Linked DNA regions of Homo sapiens: regions 1, 2, 3 and 5 are each linked to region 4. The links are contacts of gene promoters, found by promoter capture Hi-C in blood cells and fetal thymus (Javierre and others, 2016). All regions are on one chromosome and are shown on one strand. Each heading gives the region's core, a stretch centred on a gene start or on the middle of the fragment in contact. The rest is flanking DNA. Distances are from core to core; before and after follow the strand shown.

Evidence for each region. The method cuts DNA at HindIII sites, captures the fragments that hold promoters and counts their contacts. A CHiCAGO score of 5 or more calls a contact.
Region 1: a contact is called between a fragment that was not itself captured here and the fragment with the promoter of KHDRBS3 in region 4, in 1 of 17 cell types (M2 macrophages). The highest score is 7.3, in M2 macrophages.
Region 2: a fragment that was not itself captured here is called in contact with the fragment with the promoter of KHDRBS3 in region 4 in 1 of 17 cell types (M2 macrophages); the score reaches 6.4 in M2 macrophages.
Region 3: a contact is called between a fragment that was not itself captured here and the fragment with the promoter of KHDRBS3 in region 4, in 1 of 17 cell types (endothelial precursors). The highest score is 5.0, in endothelial precursors.
Region 5: a contact is called between a fragment that was not itself captured here and the fragment with the promoter of KHDRBS3 in region 4, in 1 of 17 cell types (M2 macrophages). The highest score is 8.7, in M2 macrophages.

Annotation. Positions count from the first base shown.
Region 1 is chr8:137,478,657-137,482,585 of GRCh38, reverse strand. No RefSeq gene overlaps it. Among named protein-coding and RNA genes, the nearest start is that of LINC02055, 950 kb to the right of the region's middle. The HindIII fragment of the contact is 1,508 bases long and covers 1,476-2,983 here.
Region 2 is chr8:137,839,405-137,842,944 of GRCh38, reverse strand. The region is part of intron 2 of LOC401478 (a long non-coding RNA gene); the gene reads left to right. Among named protein-coding and RNA genes, the nearest start is that of FAM135B, 660 kb to the left of the region's middle. The HindIII fragment of the contact is 3,283 bases long and covers 1-3,025 here.
Region 3 is chr8:137,500,346-137,503,928 of GRCh38, reverse strand. No RefSeq gene overlaps it. Among named protein-coding and RNA genes, the nearest start is that of LINC02055, 970 kb to the right of the region's middle. The HindIII fragment of the contact is 745 bases long and covers 1,040-1,784 here.
Region 4 is chr8:135,455,026-135,459,078 of GRCh38, reverse strand. KHDRBS3 (KH RNA binding domain containing, signal transduction associated 3) reads right to left here and starts at 1,623. Exons shown (of 9, transcript NM_006558.3): 1 at 1,125-1,623. The coding sequence starts at 1,212. LOC101927872 (a long non-coding RNA gene) reads left to right here and starts at 1,104. Exons shown (of 4, transcript XR_002956731.2): 1 at 1,104-1,197. RefSeq lists a silencer at 1,452-1,751. The HindIII fragment of the contact is 3,136 bases long and covers 1-2,086 here.
Region 5 is chr8:138,109,019-138,113,093 of GRCh38, reverse strand. No RefSeq gene overlaps it. Among named protein-coding and RNA genes, the nearest start is that of FAM135B, 390 kb to the left of the region's middle. The HindIII fragment of the contact is 1,644 bases long and covers 925-2,568 here.

The DNA.
Region 1 (3,929 bases), core at 980-3,479, 2.0 Mb before region 4:
TATCCCCACTCCATTACTCTCAACTACTGGATGTGTGTGGCTCTATGTAAACTTGATTAAGTCTCAGTCACTGCTTACTCCATGACTATACCAAAAGAAGCAAACTTATTTGGTAACTGGAAAAAAAAAAACAAAATCTTACTGGCTGTTCTCATGTATCTCCTTAGATCTTCCCAGCAATTCTATCCAATTTTCCGGTTCATTCTCTCAATGTCCTAGCTCTACAATTCCCAACTTAAAACAAACAAACAAAAAATCAATGACACAATGATGATGAAATTGATACAAGAAAAGGGAGGGAGGAAAGGGAACTCTGACAACCCTAGGAATCACCCATCTGCCCTGAATGCTGAGGAGATCAATAATAGCACACTCATAATCCATTAGCAGAACTCCACTTGGAAATCTCTGAGCTGGAAGACCTCTGTTCTTTACCTTCTCTCTCCTCAAATATTAACATCTCTTCCACAGCATAATTTGGGTTTGAAGATGCTGCTTCTATTCTTCCCTGGAAAATAGAAACAACCTGAAAAATTCTACATGTTCTCACCACTAAATCCTAGAATCTTTACGTAAAAATGCATGTATACTGCTTTAATTTTTATTGTAATTAATGAAATGCCTGTGCTTGCATTTAACTCTAAGGTTCCACTTGTGTAATGGATCCCATTGCATCACGTGTACTTAAGGACACTACTTCTGCAATTTACCTGTCTTTTTCTTGCCTGCTATTTTCTTGTAATGCAACTTTTCTGTATTCATAAAAACATCCTAAAATATTTACCATCTCACAATATCTGTGCTATTTTCCCACATCTTTCCAGCTGATGCCTAACTTCTTCACTTGCTTTTACCACAAAGTTCCTCACAGAGTAGTTTATATTCCTTTTCCCTCGTTACTTCTATTTCCCTTAAACCCAAGCCAGTCAAGCACTCAGGCATTTGCCCTTACCATTCCACAGAAGCAGTTTTGGTCAAAGTCATAGTTAATCTGAATGTTTCCAAATTCAGTGGTCAATATTTAGTCCTCATTTCACTCAAACTATCAGAATCCCTGTCAAGAAAGCTCTCTACTACCTTCTGATTCAAAATGTTCTTCACTTATTTCCTAGTCTCTCTCTCCCACTCTCTCTGGTCATCCCTTGCTCTGTTGTCTCCTCGTTTCTGCTACAGGGGTCCTCTCAATAGTTCAACTTACATCACCTCAATGTCCTGATTTTGCATTTTCTGAAGTTCAGTTATTGTACTTCCTCTCTCTTTCTATGTCTTTTCTCTCTCCACCCAACCCTTAGGTGGTATCATATGCTCCCATGGCATATTGGGCATCTATGTACTGACAATTCACAAGTCTCCCCGTTCCATCTTTCCAAACCTTAGAATCAAGTGTCTGAATGCCTGCATAATATTTGGTTGCTTTACAGACATCCCAAGCTCAACAAGCCCAAGGGTGTTGGCTAGAGAGATGGAGTGAAGCTTAATTCTTTGTATCTTTAAAGTTTGGCAAAAATATAAAGTATACATGGGCCTACCACAAACTAAATGTTCTTGTCCCCCAAAAATTCATATGTTGAAGTCTCTATTTCCAGTGTGATAGTATTTGGTGATGAGGCCTTTGGGAGATAATTTAGGTTAGATTCTGTCATGATGGTAGGGGTTCAATGATAGAATTAATGTCCTTACAAAAAAAGAAAGATGCTCTCTCTCTCCCTCTCTCTCTCTGTCTCTCCCTCCCTCTTTCTGTAAGAATAAAGCCAAAGAAAGGCCATGTGAGCACACATTAGGAAGCCTGCTGTCTATAAGCCAGGAAGACAGCTTTCAACAGACACCAAATCTGCCTACACCTTGATCTTGGACTTCCCAGCCTCCAGAACAGAGAGAAATGCATTTCTATTATTTAAGCCACCCAGCCTATGGTAGTTTGTTACAGCATCCTAATCTGATTAAGTGAGGGTCCTTAATAAATATTGGTTGAATGTGCAAATAAACAAATTAAATGAGAAAATATACACAACTAGAGCCTTAAGATCATCTTAAATTAATGAATTCCAGCTCAGCAATCTGATAGTTTAATACCATCTGTAACATTCTCTGCAACAGTCACTCAGTTATATGAAACTTCCAGTAACAGAAGAAAAACTAACATTTTTCACAATTAGCTCTTATTTGGAAGGACATTCCTTGTGATAAGTGCAACTCTTCTCTTCCCAAATGTTCACTTATTGTACCTCTCTTTGGTCTCTGTGTTTTTACTGAAATAACCTATTGACTCTTACAGATGGTAGCTTTTCAGACACAGGAAGGCATAAAGACTTCTTAACAACACATAAGCTGAAGCAGACCTGGGGCCACAGACATCAGGCTCCTGGTCACAAGAGGCTTTTTCTATCAAGAAAAGCTGAAACTATTCCAAGTAACCATCCTGCCCTCACATATCATCATGTTTCTCTTTTGATTTTTGACAAGCTCAGACAAGCACAGTTCATTGGAACACATATTCTCCTTTGGCCCAACTACATGGAGACACACAATGTTAAAATACAAGGCACTTAAAATACTACCTATTTCTTACCCCTACACCCCGTGTTCAGTGTCCAGAATAACAAATAGAAGCCAAAATCTTAATCCTTCTAGTTGACTCTGATTTTTCTCCTTGACTGCTACTCTTCTTGCAGTAACAAACTCTTGCTACGTATGTGATTTTATTTCTCATTCTAAGACTCATGGTCACTCCTAGGCAGAATTAACTTTCCCTGGGTGAACTATATCACTCTCTATTACAAATGGAAAATCTGAAACTATATCCGTCTTCTTTCATTGGATTAGTACTTCTGTCTGCTTTCATTACTGGCTGAATTACTGTTTAAACTCACCAAGTCTTGACCATGGGGCCAGATTTTGGCATTAACTACTTGGACTGTGTTTCTGCTGGAGTTCCCTTGCTCCCTCAAGAAAATATCTAATATGAATTAATTAAAATTAAGCTTAGGGGAAGTTTTGGTCCTCTAAACCTCTATTGCTTTCCCCCTAGCTCATTCTAGTTTCCACTTCCCAAAGACAAAGTATCCTATTGCCATCCTTCATCATTTCTATTTGTCTGACTTGAAATGTTTCAACATCTCACCACCTGGACTTGAGGTATTAATAGAATCTGGTGGGCTTAGACATGCTTAAAGCTCAACTTTCCAGAATTTCTTAAGTAATGTCCTTGCATATTGCACATTCTGATCCATTTTCCACCTGTACCAGCACAATCTGTTTAATATGCAAATCATATTATGCCATTCATTTGCCTAAAGCTCTTCAGTAAATTCTCATTGCACTCCTAGCAAGGTTCAAACTCTTCATAGTGATAAGTGAGGACTTGTGTAAATTTATTCAGCCTCCCTCTTCCATTTTATCTTCACCTTGCACTCATGACCAGACTGTTCCCACTAAAAACCCTTCCTCCCCTGTGCATCTGCTTTCTCAATGGCCCCTGCTGTCATGGACTTCCATTGTCAGGAGCCAAGGATGCTAACAACTGCCAGGTGGGGAAGTGGAACAGTTTGGGTGGGATAGATGGGGATGGCCTCGCTAACATGGTAACATTTGAACATACCCCTCATAGAGTTAGTAGAGGACATGATGAGAATGTGGGAGAAAAGAGAGCTCCAGGCAGTGGAGAACGTCATTGTTCTAATGACCCTGAGACAGAGCGTGCTTGGCGTTTTCCAGAAATAGCATGAAGGCCAGCGTTGGTAGAGCAGAGAAAAACAAAAACAGGGGGTGATAGACTGAGGGTAAATTAGAAAAAAAGATTATGTAAGAATTTAGGGACGGTGATTAGGACTTTGATTTTTTTTAATAGGTTAGGTCATTTTGAGGAGAGGAATAAGTTACTTAAACACCCATTTGTGAATTCAAAAAAGTAAGAAAGAAAATGAATCTGG
Region 2 (3,540 bases), core at 135-2,634, 2.4 Mb before region 4:
GTCCTGCCCTTATTCCCCAGACCTTATCACTTCAGTGTACTCTTATTGACTGACTTCCAACTACCAGCACCTTAATTGCTTTGACAGGGATTTCTACAGAGCTGCAGGCCCAGTAGAATGGCAGGCCCCACAGCCGCCCTCAAGCAAGGGATGGTTTGAGTTTTTATATAAAGACATATTTCTTGAAAAATGCTAAGAGAGGGATGTTAAGTGTTCTCACCACAAAAATGATGGCTGTGCAAGTTAATGCACATGTGAATTAGTAAGATTTAACCAGTCCACAATGTAATATAGACTTCAAAACATCATGTTGTACATGATACTTAAAATTTTACCTGTAAAATTAAAAAATGGATACATTTGGAAGAACAAAAGAAGAAAAATGAATTTAGAGTTGCTTGGCCCTCAGATGAAATAGTTTCTCCACGGGACTAAGCACCAGTTGTCCAGAGCGACTTGCTAACTCATCCTTCACTGTCTCCTCCTGTTCACCCTGCCCTGTCCTGGCTCTCTACAGCTTCCAAATAACAACTTGCATTTGCATCCTTGATTTGAAGTGTACTCCCGGGAGAATCCAAACCCTCACTCTTCTTTAGAATGCACATCTGTTATAAACCCTTGTTAAATTCAAGAGAAGAAACAGCTTTTAAACATTGAAAGTAAGATGTGAAAGAGAATTTATGGACTGGGTTTCAATTATATTAATCCACTCTCCGTGTGTCTTAAGTTGTTTCCTTAATGTAAGGAAGGGAACTTTATCAAGAAATCTTAATGCATTGCTTCTGCTGTTCCTGCCCCTTCCCTTTCTTTAAGGTTTTGGCATCAGAAAGTATGGTGTTTTAAATACAATACAGAGTTTACTTATAAAGAGGCTGAGGATTCTAGTGATTTAAGAAAATATTAGAGTACTAGGAGCCAAAGCAAAAACTATTGATGGGGCTCAATAAGGGAAGCTATCAATATCAGCATTAGAAACCTGGACTAATTTAGAAAATAGTGATCTTTTGTGGCTGCATGTGGTGGGTCATGTTTGTAATCCCAACACTTTAGGAGACCAAGGTGGGAGGATCCCTTGAGCCCAGGAGTTCAAGACCACCCTGGACAAGATGGTAGGACTCTGTCTTTACAAAGAATTTTGTTTAAAAATGTAGTTGTGTGGTGGTGCCACATACCTATAGCTCTAGCTATTTGGGAGGCTGAGGCAGAAGGCTCCCTTGAGCCAAGGAGTTTGAGACTGCAGTGAGCTATGATGATGCCACTGTACTCCAGCCTGGGCAACAGAGCAAGGCTCTGTCTCTTAAAAGAGAGAGAGAGAGAGAAGAAAATAATGATCATTTAATGTGAAGAATCCTAAATGTTTTATTAATCTCTTATCTACTGTGACTACATTTTGGGAATCAATTTTTGGAATCAAGAATTAATTGGAGGGACTCATTTTCACAAACATTTTGTAATTCTTGATATGACCATATGCTCCTCAATTATTTTTAATTTCAATACCATCACATATCAATTGAAAACCATATGATGTGTTCGACGTTCATCTTCTCAAGTGGCATTCTCTCTCTCTGTCTCTCTTTCTCTCTTTTCTTTTAGAAACGTGGTCTCGCTATGTTGTCTAAATTGGTCTGGAACTGTAACTCCTGGGCTCTAGTGATCTTTCCACCTCAGCCTCCCAAGTAGATGGGATGACAGGTGGGAGCCACAGCTCATTTGCTTTTTTGATAGATGGTTCATTATTTAAAAAGCACCGTGACCAGATTCCTATGCCATGCTTCAAGCCTCCTAAAACACCTAGATACTATTTATCTCTGCTCTTCTAGATTTCTCCATCCACATATCTTTACTCATAATGGGCTGTAACTGACCTTCAGCAAAGGTGACCCTGGACTTCAGCAGATGTGTTCTAATGCAACCAAGATCAACAGAAACACCATCTACAGTATGAGAACCTCATAGCTCTCTATGTTCACTCATTCATATTTCACTCTTGTGTCAGAATTTCCCATTTTTTCCTTTTATTTACCCAGTGGTTAGATTCTTGAAAACTGGTGGGTATCTAGCAACACTTCATTTAAAATAGATAAACGGATGTCCTCATCAGAAACACAGATAAATCAGAAAATATATTCTGGTGGTTTATTTTTGTTTAAAGCCAGTGCTATCCTTTACTGGTTGCTATTGTAACTCATTCTCAAGCTGACGTCATTGCTATCCCCTGGCTTTAAAAAGTAATAAAGCCCAGTGATCTCAACTTTACTTCTCTATCCCCTACTTTGGTCTTTAATTTCACCGCAGAATAGATACTCAAAAAATAATTATTGAGTAAGTGGATAAATGGATGAATGTGAACAGTGAACAATTTAGGGAAAATAAATTTTAAAAATGTTTATTGAGAAACAACCAAAATTGCTAGCAATGTATGACAAAGACAGACACATCTGACCACTCCACTCCTGGTACAACTATTCTCCATTGCTGGTCTTTCAGGACAGTCTTGGGGAAATGCAGAGATATTCCAGAGTAGCACATTGATCTCCATGTCTTTGTCACATGTTTCTCTGATGGTGCTTTCAGTGAAGTGTGGTTAGTAATCCGTTGTCTGAGGTCTGTTTCTTTCCAGTGTGATAGAGAACCTCAATATTGACTCCAAAGGGCATAACCTTTCGTGGTCTTCTTCTGATAGTGTCCCTGTGTTGTTAGATGATGTTCTGCAGAAATCACAAAGAATAAACTCACACATATGTACCATCAGGCTGCAATGGGAAGTTAGGGGCAAGCAGAAGGGGGATCATGCACTTGGATTAATGTCATGCTGCATTTGTCAACACAATGCCTTCTCAACATTTCACAAGCAATGCAAAACACAGGAGTATGCAATCCACACGTTTATATTTTAAAAGAGTTGAAAGTGTAAATTCAATAGTTGTCATATAAGAGGCTGGCATATACATTACTACATGTCCTTGCAGTAAAACTTATCAAGTACTCTGTAACCATCATCCCCAAAGTGCAATATGAAGCTTTCGTTTATGAAAATTACATATTAAAGACATAAAACGACCAAAAACCAACCTAACTGTCCTTGTTTTCAATTAAGTTGGAATATTGTTAAGGAGACCCAAATTGTATTCCCAGGCTTGCTGATTAATTTCCTCAGGTTGGTTCTATCATTCATTTCCATAACTTTATTATTCAGGGGGATAATTGCTGCAAAAGAAATAATGATTCAGAAAGGTAATTCTATCTTGACACTTTTGCAGGACTTTTTGCAGATGCTTCATACCTTAACGAAGACTGGAGAAATAAGAGCTTTTGAAAGATAATTATAACTTCTTTCTTCCCTGTCCATGTTATTGATTCTTCATACACAATAGCAAATGTGTTTCAATGAAATAGCCAGATTTCAAGTACAACTAACTAGTTTTTCTTTTTTATTGTTCTGTTTTCTTTAAAATTTGCTCTCTTTTCCTTGGTATAATATTTTTCCTCCTTTCCTTTCTTCTTTCCACCCTGTCTTTCTGTCTACCTATTTTTCTT
Region 3 (3,583 bases), core at 163-2,662, 2.0 Mb before region 4:
CACCTGCCTCGGCCTCTGAAAGTGCTGGGATTACTGGCATGAGCCACCGCGCCTGGCCTAGTCACCATTCTTAACTCTCCTATAACATGAAGCATTATACATCCACCTCCTTGCCATGGTCTGGTAGCAGGTGAAGGCTACTTCTTTTGTCTATGGCTTTGAACTTGGCCAATGTGTCATTGCAAACATGATGCAAGTGGGGGCTTAAAATGTGTTTGTGAGATTTCACCTGCTGCTTTTTACTTCTGTCACTGCCATGAAAAAGTTATGCAACATTTTCCCTTCAGCCCAGAAGAATAAGAGAAGTGGGCCAGACGTGGTTCTAATTCACAGCCTGGAGACGTGTTCAACTAGACCAACCAACTCTTGCTGACTCACAAATAGGAAAGGCAGAAATAACCTTTGTTTTTTAAAAAAAAAACCTTTGTAAAAATACAGAGATGATATCTCTCTACTTTTTTTTATCCTCCAAAATAACATCTGCTCAAGAGTGAGCCTTTTATTTTTTTCTATCTAGACTGCCTTTGCCTTTCACCAAAATATTTACCCAGAGCCTAAAAGGTATCATGGATTGTATCAGTTGCAATGAACACAGGAATGAATGAGGACACGAGGATGAGTTGTTGTTGCTGTTGTTTCTTAGATTATCAGTAGACTGTGATGAATTTACATCACTGGATGTGTGCTTAGCGAAGTTTTGCCTTTCTCTGTTTTCAATGCCAAATCCACTCACTATGAAGGGCCATCTGTAGCATTTTAGAAAGAGCCTTGAGAAATTTACTTATAGTGGCTTAAATCTTCAGACTGCCTTTACCGTAACTCAGGGAGTTGGGGGAGAGAGAGAGAGATATCAGTGATCTCTCTGGAGAGTTTTGTGGTGTACATGATGCCTGTCCATGTTCATTGGCCAGACTTCATCATATTATCCCAAGAAAATGTAAGAGTTCTGAGAAATGTAGTCTTCTTATTTGTTAAGGACAAAAAGGAAATAATTTGATGGGCATACAATATTGGCTCTGCCAAATGAGGCATCAAAGCTTCAAACTGAAGGGACTGGGTATGGCAGAGATTGATACTATTTATCATTTTGTGTTTTTTTCCCCGTTTCCTATGCACACAGGAAGACTACAATTACCAGCCCTCTTGAGATAATTTTGTACCATAAAACTATGTTCTCTCCTTAGGAGAGGACCAGGGCAAAACTCCTGGTGCAGTACACCCCTCAGAGAAGCACACTGATATTGCTGACAGAGAAGTGCTAATACCTGGTGAATCAGAACACAAAGCTGGGACACATCTCAGCTCTGAACGTGAACAAGAGTAATTCTGATTCACTGGTGCATGAACATATATATTAGAATGCAGATGGACTGAAAAATTGGGTTGATACTTACATCTTAACTTACCACCAAGTCAAGTTGACGAAAGAGAAAATATATTTTCTTGAGGCAATTGTTTACGGTATCTCTGTGCTTCCAATTCTGAGTCCCTATGCCTAAGCTGCTCCCAGGTTCCCACCAGCAATTCTGTTCTTTTTAGCAGAGGGAGTTCATATTTCTCTACCCTGATGCTTACTTTCCTCATATGCAGCAAAGACCCATCAAATAATTAAGTATCTCTATGAAAACATTTACCTTATTGTGTTTTATTTTGCCTATTTTAGACATCCAACTCTTCCTCCAGGGAAAATTCGCACACACACACACACACACACACACACACACACACTCTACTATTTCTCATTGTTTCATGAGCAAGAAACATTTTGCTCTGATGTTAAAGCTTGAAGTAGATGATTTTGAAAATAAATGTATGAGTAGACAATTGTCTTACAAAGAGTCAAGAGATAGATAAGATTTGTGAGAGTAACCACATTTATTTCCAAAAGAAGCTTTCATTTTTAACTTCTATTGAAGTTGATTTACTTCTGAAAACATTGAACGATAAGCAATATTAATGTAAAGTAAATAAATAAATGTTTTCAAACACAATTGTGAAGTAAGACACTAATACAAAAATAAGCTGGAACAAATACAAGCTATGTTTCTCTTCTCCCCATTATGCCCTAAAACTACAAACTAAATTACACAGTACTCTTTAATCTCTAAAATTGTCCAAATTGAGGTAAACAATTCAGAATGCCTCATGCATAATTTATTAAGGATTTCACAGTGTCATGTATTTGCCCTAATTCAATAACATCACACTATTATAATTTGACTTTTAATATATTATGGTTATTTATTAAATTTTAAATGAGTCTCAAATTTGCTTTCTGCAGATTCAAAATTCCATGTTCATAACAGAACTAGACAAAAAGAACTATTTGAAATCTCTGTTGGGTCTTTGGAAGTCTTTGGGAATGGCACTGAATGACACAGTTTCCCTGCACATACACACACTCCCACATGTGCCAAGGCCAAAGACGGCAGGAAAGCTGATGTCCAAATGAGAGGAAGACTCCTGCAAAATTCGAGGAGAGCTCTCTGGTCAAGATTCTGTTCTAGGAATAATTGTGTACTTCATAGGAAATGCTCAGGCTTTTACTGAATACATTAATATTCTTGGGAAATTTTTTTCTTTATTTTTTCTGCAAATAAGTTTGAATTTCACAGCAGGAAATAAGGCAAAGCGGGAGCTTTGTATCATAAACATATAAAGTCAACAAATAGGGTAATTCAAAAGCATATCATTATAGTACCCATTACAAGCCCTTCATTATGAATTCAACATTTTCCTTTTCTACTTTATACATTGGTGATGTCAGTTTATAAATAAAACTATGGCTGGGCACGGTGGCTCGTACCTGTAATCCTAGCACTTTGGGAGGCTGAGGCGGGTGGATCACCTGAGGCCAGGAGTTAGAAACCAGCCTGGTCAACATGGTGAAACCCCTTCCCTACTAAAAATACAAAAATTATCTGGGTGTGGTGGCATGCCCCTGTAGTCCCAGCTATTCAGGAGGCTGAGGCTGGAGAATCGCTTGAACCCAGAAGGCGGTGGTTGCAGCGAGCCGAGATCACACCACTGCACTCGAACCTGGGTAACAGAATGAGACTCTGTCTCCAAAAAAAAAAAAAAAGAAAAAGAAAAACGAAGGTATATTTATGAAGAGTCAACCTAGCACCTGGCAGGAAGCTAGCAGAGTTCTTAGTTCATTTTTGTTGCTATAACCGAATACTAGTGACTGGATAATATATAAATAAAATTAGTTTGCTTCTCATAGTTCTGGAGGATGAGAAGTCCAAGGTCAAGGGGCCTGCATCTTGTATGGGCCTTTTTGCTGAGTCATCCCATGGGGGTCAGCAAACAGGGACATGCAAGAGAGAGAGGAAGAGAGAGAGACAGAGAAACAGAGAGAGAGTGTGTGTGTAATGGGGCTGAATTCATCCTTTTGTCAGGAAACCACTCTCATAATAGCTAGATGATATAGTTTGTATATTTGTTCTCACCCTAGTCTCATGTTGAATTGTCATCACCAGTTCTGGAGGTGATGTTTGGTGGGAGGTGGTGTTTGAGTCATGGAGGTGGGATCCTTAATGGCTTGGTACTGTCTTTGCAATAGTGAGTGAGTTCCCGCAAG
Region 4 (4,053 bases), core at 374-2,873:
ACTGTCAGTGCACAGTAATTCCTGCAAAAGGTAACAGATCTGACCAGATCATGTTGCTGCCATTTCCCAGAGAAAAGACAGACCAGTGGCACCCACACCCATCTTCATCTGAAACACATATTCCAGGAAAAGTAGGAGACTGCTCCCAGGAAGGAAGGCTTAATTTACCGTGCATGCCAGCAGATGATTCAGGAAGCCACAGGAGGAAAAAGCCAGGGGAACACTGTCCCGGGTAGGCGTGCCTCCAGAAATCTCTGTATCCCTGACCCGCAGTACTTCCTAGGATCTTTCACACCCTGAGCTGGCTGGAGTCGTGTGAAAATGGCAAGGACTCCCTTCACCACTATTCCGAACCTCAAGCCAGCCACCAATGAGGGTCACCCAACCCAACGCCCTCCGGAACGGTGCTCTTTTGCCGGCCTCTTCTCCCCTACTGACTTCTCCAAGGGCCAGCCTGCAAGGCTTGGCATGGGCTGCCCATCCCCTGGGAGGGCTGACTGCCCCGCCAGGGCTGTTGGAGCCTGGACACAGGAGAGACAAAGGGCTGGGAGGGGGAACTGGGCTCCTCCCCTGGGACCACGGAGCTCCTCTCCTCTCAGGTGCTGGGGTCTGACCCCAACCCTCTTCCAAGGTCCCCAAACTTCGCTAACAATGCAAGCACCTGTTCCCTTCACCTCTTCTGCATTTGAGTCCCTCAAGTCCTTCCATTTTCCTCCAGCTTTTTCTCCAGTACCTTAGACAAACCAAACGCCCTACTTCCCCGAGTCCAACACGCTCCCCTTCCATGACATAATTCAACCTCGTTCCCAACGAAGCCCCCAGATGGTCGCTGTCCCCCACCCAGAAGTTTCCCCTGGGTGTGCCCGAGTCCCCAAAGATTTCCTTCAAGTCTCACCCATGCGCCCCAGCCTTCTCCTTCCAAGTCCCCAAAATTCACATCAGGGTCTTCCCCTAGGTGTCCCACAGCCTCCCAGGTCCCCGTGCAAACGACCCCGGGGGCCACCCGGGCCTCCGTCTCCGCCGCGTCCGCTGACAGCAGAGGGCACGGAGGGGCCCCCTGGGCCCCCGCGTTTCCACCCGGCCCCCAACCGCCGCCGGCCGGCAGTTAACGGCCGGCGCCTCACCTTGGTTCACCAGGCGCAGGGCGTGCGTGAAGGAGGGGTCCAGGGAGTCCTTCTCCGCCATCAGCTCGGGCAGGTACTTCTCCTCCATGCTCGCCGGCCGCCGGGCCCGGGATGTGGACTCCAGGCGCACGGGGGGCGGCGCCCGGCAACCCCCGACCCCGCCCGCGCCCCCAGCGGCGGGGACCCGGGGGCCAGACGCGGCAGCAGCGGCCAAGCCGGGCGGTCGGCCGGAAGGCGGCGGCGGCGGCACGGGGGCGGGAACCGACCGCTCAGCCCCGATCCCCGGTGGCCGCCGAGTACCCAGCGCCGGCGGCCCCCGCGCTCCGGGCGCGGGCCGAGGAGGAGCGGGCGCGGGCGGCGCGGTTAGGCGGGCCCTCGGGCCGAGCGGGCTGCGGCGCCCCTGAGGCAGTCCACGGCGATCCCCGCCAGTCCCGCCAGCACCTGCCAGCACCCGAGCCACAGCTGCGACCTGCACGCCGCGCGCCGCCCCGCGCACTCTGAGCCACCGCGCCGAGCGCCCAGCGCCTGCCGCCGGCCCCGCCCCGCCCGGCTCCGCCCCGCCCCGCCCCGCGCCCGCCGCCCCGCCCTGCCGCGCCGCGCCTGCGCACTGGCGCCCACCGCCCCGCCGCCCGCCGCCTCCTGGGGCCGCTCTCCACTGCGAGTCCGCCGGGACTAACCGGGCGTTTGCGAGAGGGGGTGCGTCCAAGGGCCCCTCCCGCGTGTCCGGCGCCCACCTTTGGCCCTGAGGGCCGAGTGGGGAGCCCCACGACGCTATTACAGCCTTTCAGATGCACGGACTGGGAAACTGGGGCTCAGAGAAGTCAAGTGGCTCGCCCAAGGTCACCCAGCGAGTGATCCTGGGAAGAGGGGACAAGGGCCGAGCTGGAGCTGGGAAGGGCGCCCCAGTTCGCCCCAGTCGCGCTCTGAGGAATAGCAGCGGGACCGCCCTGCTCTCTAAAGCTTCCTGGACTTCTCTAAGTTATGTCGCGTTGCTGTCCCCTCGTACTTATAAGAGAGTAAGGCAGGGGCGCCGTCCTTTCTCCGCGCCTGAGCTCAGAGCGCCAACCTCCTGAGATCCGCCAGCTCAGAGGTCGGTTACATAAAAGCGCGTGCCCTTCTGGGCGTCTTTGTCATCCCGACTTGCTCCTGGGTTGTCATTCTCTTAGGTCATAAACCGGCTGTGCCTGGACACAGCTGAGTGAGCCGCGTCTGAGCTCATCCGCTCCTGGGGAGAGGCCCTGGGACGCCCCGCCTGTCGGTGGCAATGCTCTCTGTCCCCTTCCGCCCACCCCCAACCCCCAGCAAATGCTCTCCAAGGCCATTTCAGATTTCCCGAGGCATGTGGAATAAACGTCCCCCAGGAAGGCGAAGGACTCCAGTCCTTGCCCTGCCATTTTTCCTGCCTTCAAACAGCCAGCTCAAGTCCCGGCCTCAATGTCACCTTCCCTGGACAGCCTCTCAGGACCTCCCTGGCAAAGCAAGTCACAAGTCCCTTCTCTGTGTCCCCCCAGCTTGGTCAGAGGTCATTCACAGACAGCTGTAATTCTGTTTTCAGTAGACCATGAGCATCAGGGACAGAGTTTGAGTTTTGTTTTTGAGGGGGAAGGTCACCAGTGTGTAGTACAGGGGGCAGGGATGGAGGGTACTGGAAATGTCTCTTGGAGGAATAAGTCAGTGGCATACCACTCTCAGCCAATAGCCTGAGGACAATCGCCACAGTCCCCCAGGCAGCCCCCCCGCACTCCCAATGCAAATGGAGGCAGCTTTACAAACCCGAGGGGAGTGGGAGGTGGTAGAAATCTTGGAAGCTCTAAGTCCCAGACCCGAGTACTCAACTGCCCTCACTCTCAAGGCTCCACTCCTCCCCCGGCTAAGGTGTCATTTCAGAGTCCCCAGTAAGAGTCTTCTTCATGGCTCTCTTCAGTCTCAACTTGCAAGAAGCAGAAAAATGGCACAGTTAAAAGCAAAGCCTCTGGGGTTAAACAGCCTGGATTTGGAATCATGGATCTGCTGCTCACTAGCTGTGACCTTGGGCAAGTTTCTTCACCTCAGGGTCCTCATCCGTCAAGTGGAGATGACAACCAAACTTATTTCATAAGAAGTTCATGAGAATAAATATGTTAACTCATAATGAAATACCCAAAACAGCACTCTGCCTATCGGAAATGCTGAGCTGATCTTTGCTTTGGGTTTTTTCCGGCTGCAAGGCTGTCCTCTGGGCCTTCTGAGCCTCCCTCGCCTTCCCTTCAGCTGTAACTCCAGGGATGCTGGGCAGACACCCATCTGTGGACTCCTCACTGCTGGTCGTGGTGCTTCGCCCCGGCCTGGCCAACTGAGTGAAGGACCTGTGACTGTCGCACCTCTGTTTCTGACCTGGGCCCAGCGTCAGGCTTGTAGGCTGCTTGTGGCTGCTCTTCTCAATCCCAGGTCTATGACTGGCCTCTCAGCCCCAGAAACAAAAAGGGCACTTCCCAAACCACCCTCACCCAGAAGGGCAGGAGTCTGGATGCCTGCATCCTGGCTGCTACCTGCCTCACTATGCCACTTTGTTAATTAACTTAGAGCCTGAGCTTCCCAGTCCACACCCCCAAAACCAGGGGTATGCCAGTAGTCCTGCTGGACAACAGGAGGGACTCATAGGACAATGTCTTTTCCTTTTACAACTGAAGGGAAGCATACACCTCTGGCTTATATTCCTGTGTCACAGAACTTACATTCTATGGTAGGGTTCCCTGACAGCTGCTTGTAAAGGGGGAAAGGGGGACAGAGAATGTTTGGGATGAGGCTAGAAGAGGACAATGGGGCCTGGATGCCCAGCGGCTTCATTGGAACACTTAGACTCTCTCTCTTCTAACAGCTCTTCTCCCTCTGTGTCTTCCATTCAGACCATCTGCCCCGGTGACAGTCCAGACCTTGAGTAATCACTATT
Region 5 (4,075 bases), core at 497-2,996, 2.7 Mb before region 4:
CATTTGCATAGAAATAAGCAGGTAAGGCAAATTTATCCCCCAAATCTACCCCTTTTAGGTCTGCAATGCCCACCCCCCCCCCGCCCATTAAAAATATTGCGTAAAATACTATTTCATTCAAACCTCACAGACAGCTGTCAACTTTGCAAAACAGTTGCCAGCTTGGCATTGTATTAACACTGAGGATGGGTGAGCAACAGTTTTGTGCTTGTGTAAACAAAGACACATTGTAACCCCTTCCCCTGTCTCCACCCCCACTTGAGGGAACTGGAGTCTCCATCTGCAGACTCAGAAAACTACTGTGCCTTAGGAGGACGCCCTCCAGACTCCCCTGAACATCATTCCCTACTCAGACAAGTCTCCAAAGTCTTTACATGTGTGAAACATTGTTGACATTCTTGCCTCTTGAGCTATTCTGTAAATATGAATGCTTCTTTGTTACTTTCCCATTATTCCTGTAGAGAAACTGGGACCCAAAGATAATGCAAGGTGATATAATGTGCAAAGAGCTCTAGGGATATAGAGGCAAGGAGCAATGATGCTTAGGGGAGGTGGGGTGGGGGAGTTATAATGAGGGGGAGATTTGGCTGGATTGTGAACAAAGATCCAGAGTTTTCCAGATAGAGGATGGAGGGAGGAGGAGCAGGCAAAGCAAACAGCCTGTGCAAAGGCACGGGTACAGGTGTGCAGGAATGCGTCTGGGGACTGACGAGGGCTGCCTTATGCTGAGGGAGGAGGGAGGCTTTGGGGTAGGTCCTGGCTGCATGTGAAATTAGAAGAGCATCATAAGCACAATTTTCTGAACTGGAATAGGACGAGTGAATGGATATTATAGGTCGCAAATCCACGTTACAGAGCTTATGCAATAAAATGCTTAATATGCAATAAAACTCTAAAGTGCACAGCAAATCGACGCTAAAAGCTTAGGACATGATGGATGGCATCAGTCTGACCATTGCTGGGTCAATTCTGATGGCCATATGGGAGCAGGCTGAATGCCAGCCGCTAGAGCAGGGGACTGTCAGGGCACATTGCATAATTCTAAGAACAACTATGATCTAGTGTTGAGTGTTTTTATTGTGTGTACATTTTTAAGTGATATTAGTTATAAAAACTGATATTATTACATGCTAAGAACTCTGCCTAGCACCATGCATGTGACACAGCTTGCTGAAAATGGTGAAAAGCTGACGTAGCACCACAAACCCATCTCTAACCAGTCAAAGGCAGTTGGATACCAAAATCCCCGGTGGGACGCCTGGTGCATGCAATTGCTGGCCCAGTGCCTGTCAAATAATCAGCCCAGACATGGCTAGGTAACCAACAACACTAAGAGATTGGTGCTTTGCTAAAGTGGATCAAAGGTAGCATGCAGGGACTTTAGTTTTAAAGAATGTATTCTACTTCTCCCCCACTGACTCTGATCTCCCAGGGCTTTGGTTCCTGAAGGGATGGGGCCTCCTGTTGCTAGTAAAATTTCTATCAATACCATTCTTGTTTCACTCTCTTAGTCTATTTCTTTAAACACAGGCATCATGCCATATAGTCCTCAAAACCCCATGAAATACGTATGAATATTACTTCCATTTTATTGATGCAGAAACAGAAACTTGGAGAGTAATTTGCCGACAACACACAGCTGACAGGGAGACCAGGACACCAGCACTTAACGTCAGGGAGTCTGGGCCAAAGTCTTTGTTCTTAGAGAAATACCACACTGCCAGCATCAATTCCCCTCTGTTATCTTTTTATTGTTCCTCTTTATTTACTTTTATTTCAATGAATTAGCTTATTCCAAAGAGAATATTACAGGCATAGTCATTTGACAGATGGGGTGTAGGGAGAGAAATGGCAGGGTCATGGAGGGAAATGACCTACTACTCACTGTTTCCAAAGGTAAAAATAATTGACTAAAGTTTCCTGAAGATCTGCTCTGTTCAGCAACACTAATATCAATTCCTTCTTTCCTTAGACTACAGAGACATTGGTGTTTTTAGAGCTGGTAGTTCCCCTTAAAATCATCAGTTCAATCACTTTATTTTACCAATGAGAAAACTGAGGCTCAGAAAGGGCACCTCAGTTGCTCCAGGACACACGGTTCAGTGACCTAATCTACAGGATACCAGGAGATTTGCCCCCAGCCCCATACTGGTAGCACCACTCCCTGCGTCCCTTTGTATATATGTGTGGTATTTATTAACAGCTTCTAAGCCAGGAGGTTTTACTCTTGCTTCTCCATCAGGAGGCTGGGGGTTGCTTTTGTTCCGAATCTCCTTTCCTCTACCCATCTCATAAAAAAAAAAAAAAAAAATGATATCCCCTCCGCCAAAAAAAACAAAAAACCGAAACAAACAAAACAAAACTTATGTCTGGCTCAGGAACAGAATAACTTTTCCTCATATTTTAATCAGTAGGCTCTCTAAGTCCTTTTAAATTGACACCAGTTGTTAGACTAATTCTCATTAAACCCTGGGCATGTAGGTTGAACGTTAATATTTGCTTTTTGGCTTCATATCATCTTCATTTCCCCCAATAATATATTTTCCAATAAGTGAAACGGAAAAAGCTTTTGGCCATGTTTCCTTTCCCATGCCCTTTTCCACCTTGCCCTCACTTCTGCCCACTCCATGGGGCCCATGGAGGCTTCTCCGCCTGCATGGAGGATGGTAATTAAAGATGAGTCAGAGTAATTGGAAATGGATCTTGGGCTCAGAACATCAAGGGAAAATAAAATCTGTCCTTGCATTTATAAAAAAAGCTCATTTCACAGACATCATTTAAAGATATACATGAAAAACATCACCTCCTGTTAAAAAAAAAAAATCTTTAATGGCTTCTCATTGCTCTTAGGGAAAATCATCTAAGTTTCTGCTGAGATCTGAGCACAATCATGACCCAGCCTGGTGTAAGCTCTGATTCTTTTGCTTACCGTTAAATCTCCCAGAACCCAGCACAGTGTCTGGATCATGAATTGTATGTGTTGTTATTATTCATTCATTCACTGTCTACTATGAACCTACTTTGTGCTAGGCGTTGAGGATGGAGGGGGGCTAAACAATCTTGGAGACTCCCTCAGTCAAGTGTGCACGTCGCATCCCAAGAGTGGAGACTTCTGGAATGATGAGTAAGGAGCTCAGTGGACTTTATCCCCAGCACAACCACAACTTCTCTGGTGAGAATTATTTTAAAAAATCATCAGAATTTCAAAAACAAATTTGCACCAAATTAAGTAGGGAAGAAAGAGTTTATTCAAGGCCATTGCAATAGAGGAGCGAGGCCAGGACTCAGTCAGAGCTGAACTTTGCTGAAACAAAAGGCAGGAAGGACTTCAAGTGCTGGAGTGTGAAGGAGATCATGGGCCATCTGTGTTTGTCAATTGATTTTACTCAAGAAAAGTAAACATTTTCACCTTATGACAGGAGGGAGTCCAACAACTTGGAGCAATGCACTCACCAAAGTCAGGCTCCCACCTTGTAGCAGAGGCTGGGAGAAAGGGACGGTACTTCTGTGACGATTGTGTTGCAAAGAGATGGTTCCCAGGGTCCGGAGATAGACAGTTCTGGGTTGTGAAACTGACAAAAGGCTTGGTAAGAGATTTATATCACAGGGGCTCGGAGAAATAATGCACAATTAATAGTTTTCTAAAGTAAATATTCCAAGAAAAGAGAGTCCAAGGGTCCTAGAGGCAGGAAGAAGCCTGTCTAAAGTTTAGTCAAGGTGGTGAGGAAAATGTGAGGGCTGTCTTGGAAGTTGTCCTAAGGGCATACTAAAATGGAGAAACAGTCATTCAAGAAAATGTACTAACTCTCAGTGAGAACAGTGGAAGCCTGTGACATTTGAGCCCGACACTGCTTCACTGCTCGCATCAAGGTCCATGTTACAGAAGTTCTATCTTGGCACATTCAGCCGAGGAGATGGGCTTCCTCTCCCTCAGTTCCAGTCTGGGCTATGCTTTCACTGTGGAAGGGGCAGGCTGCCTTGTGATGTAGAGACTCCATTTCCAACAACCATGTAACCTTGGGAAAAGACTCTAAGCTCCAGAGGAGAACAAAGAGCACTCACCACCATGATTGTA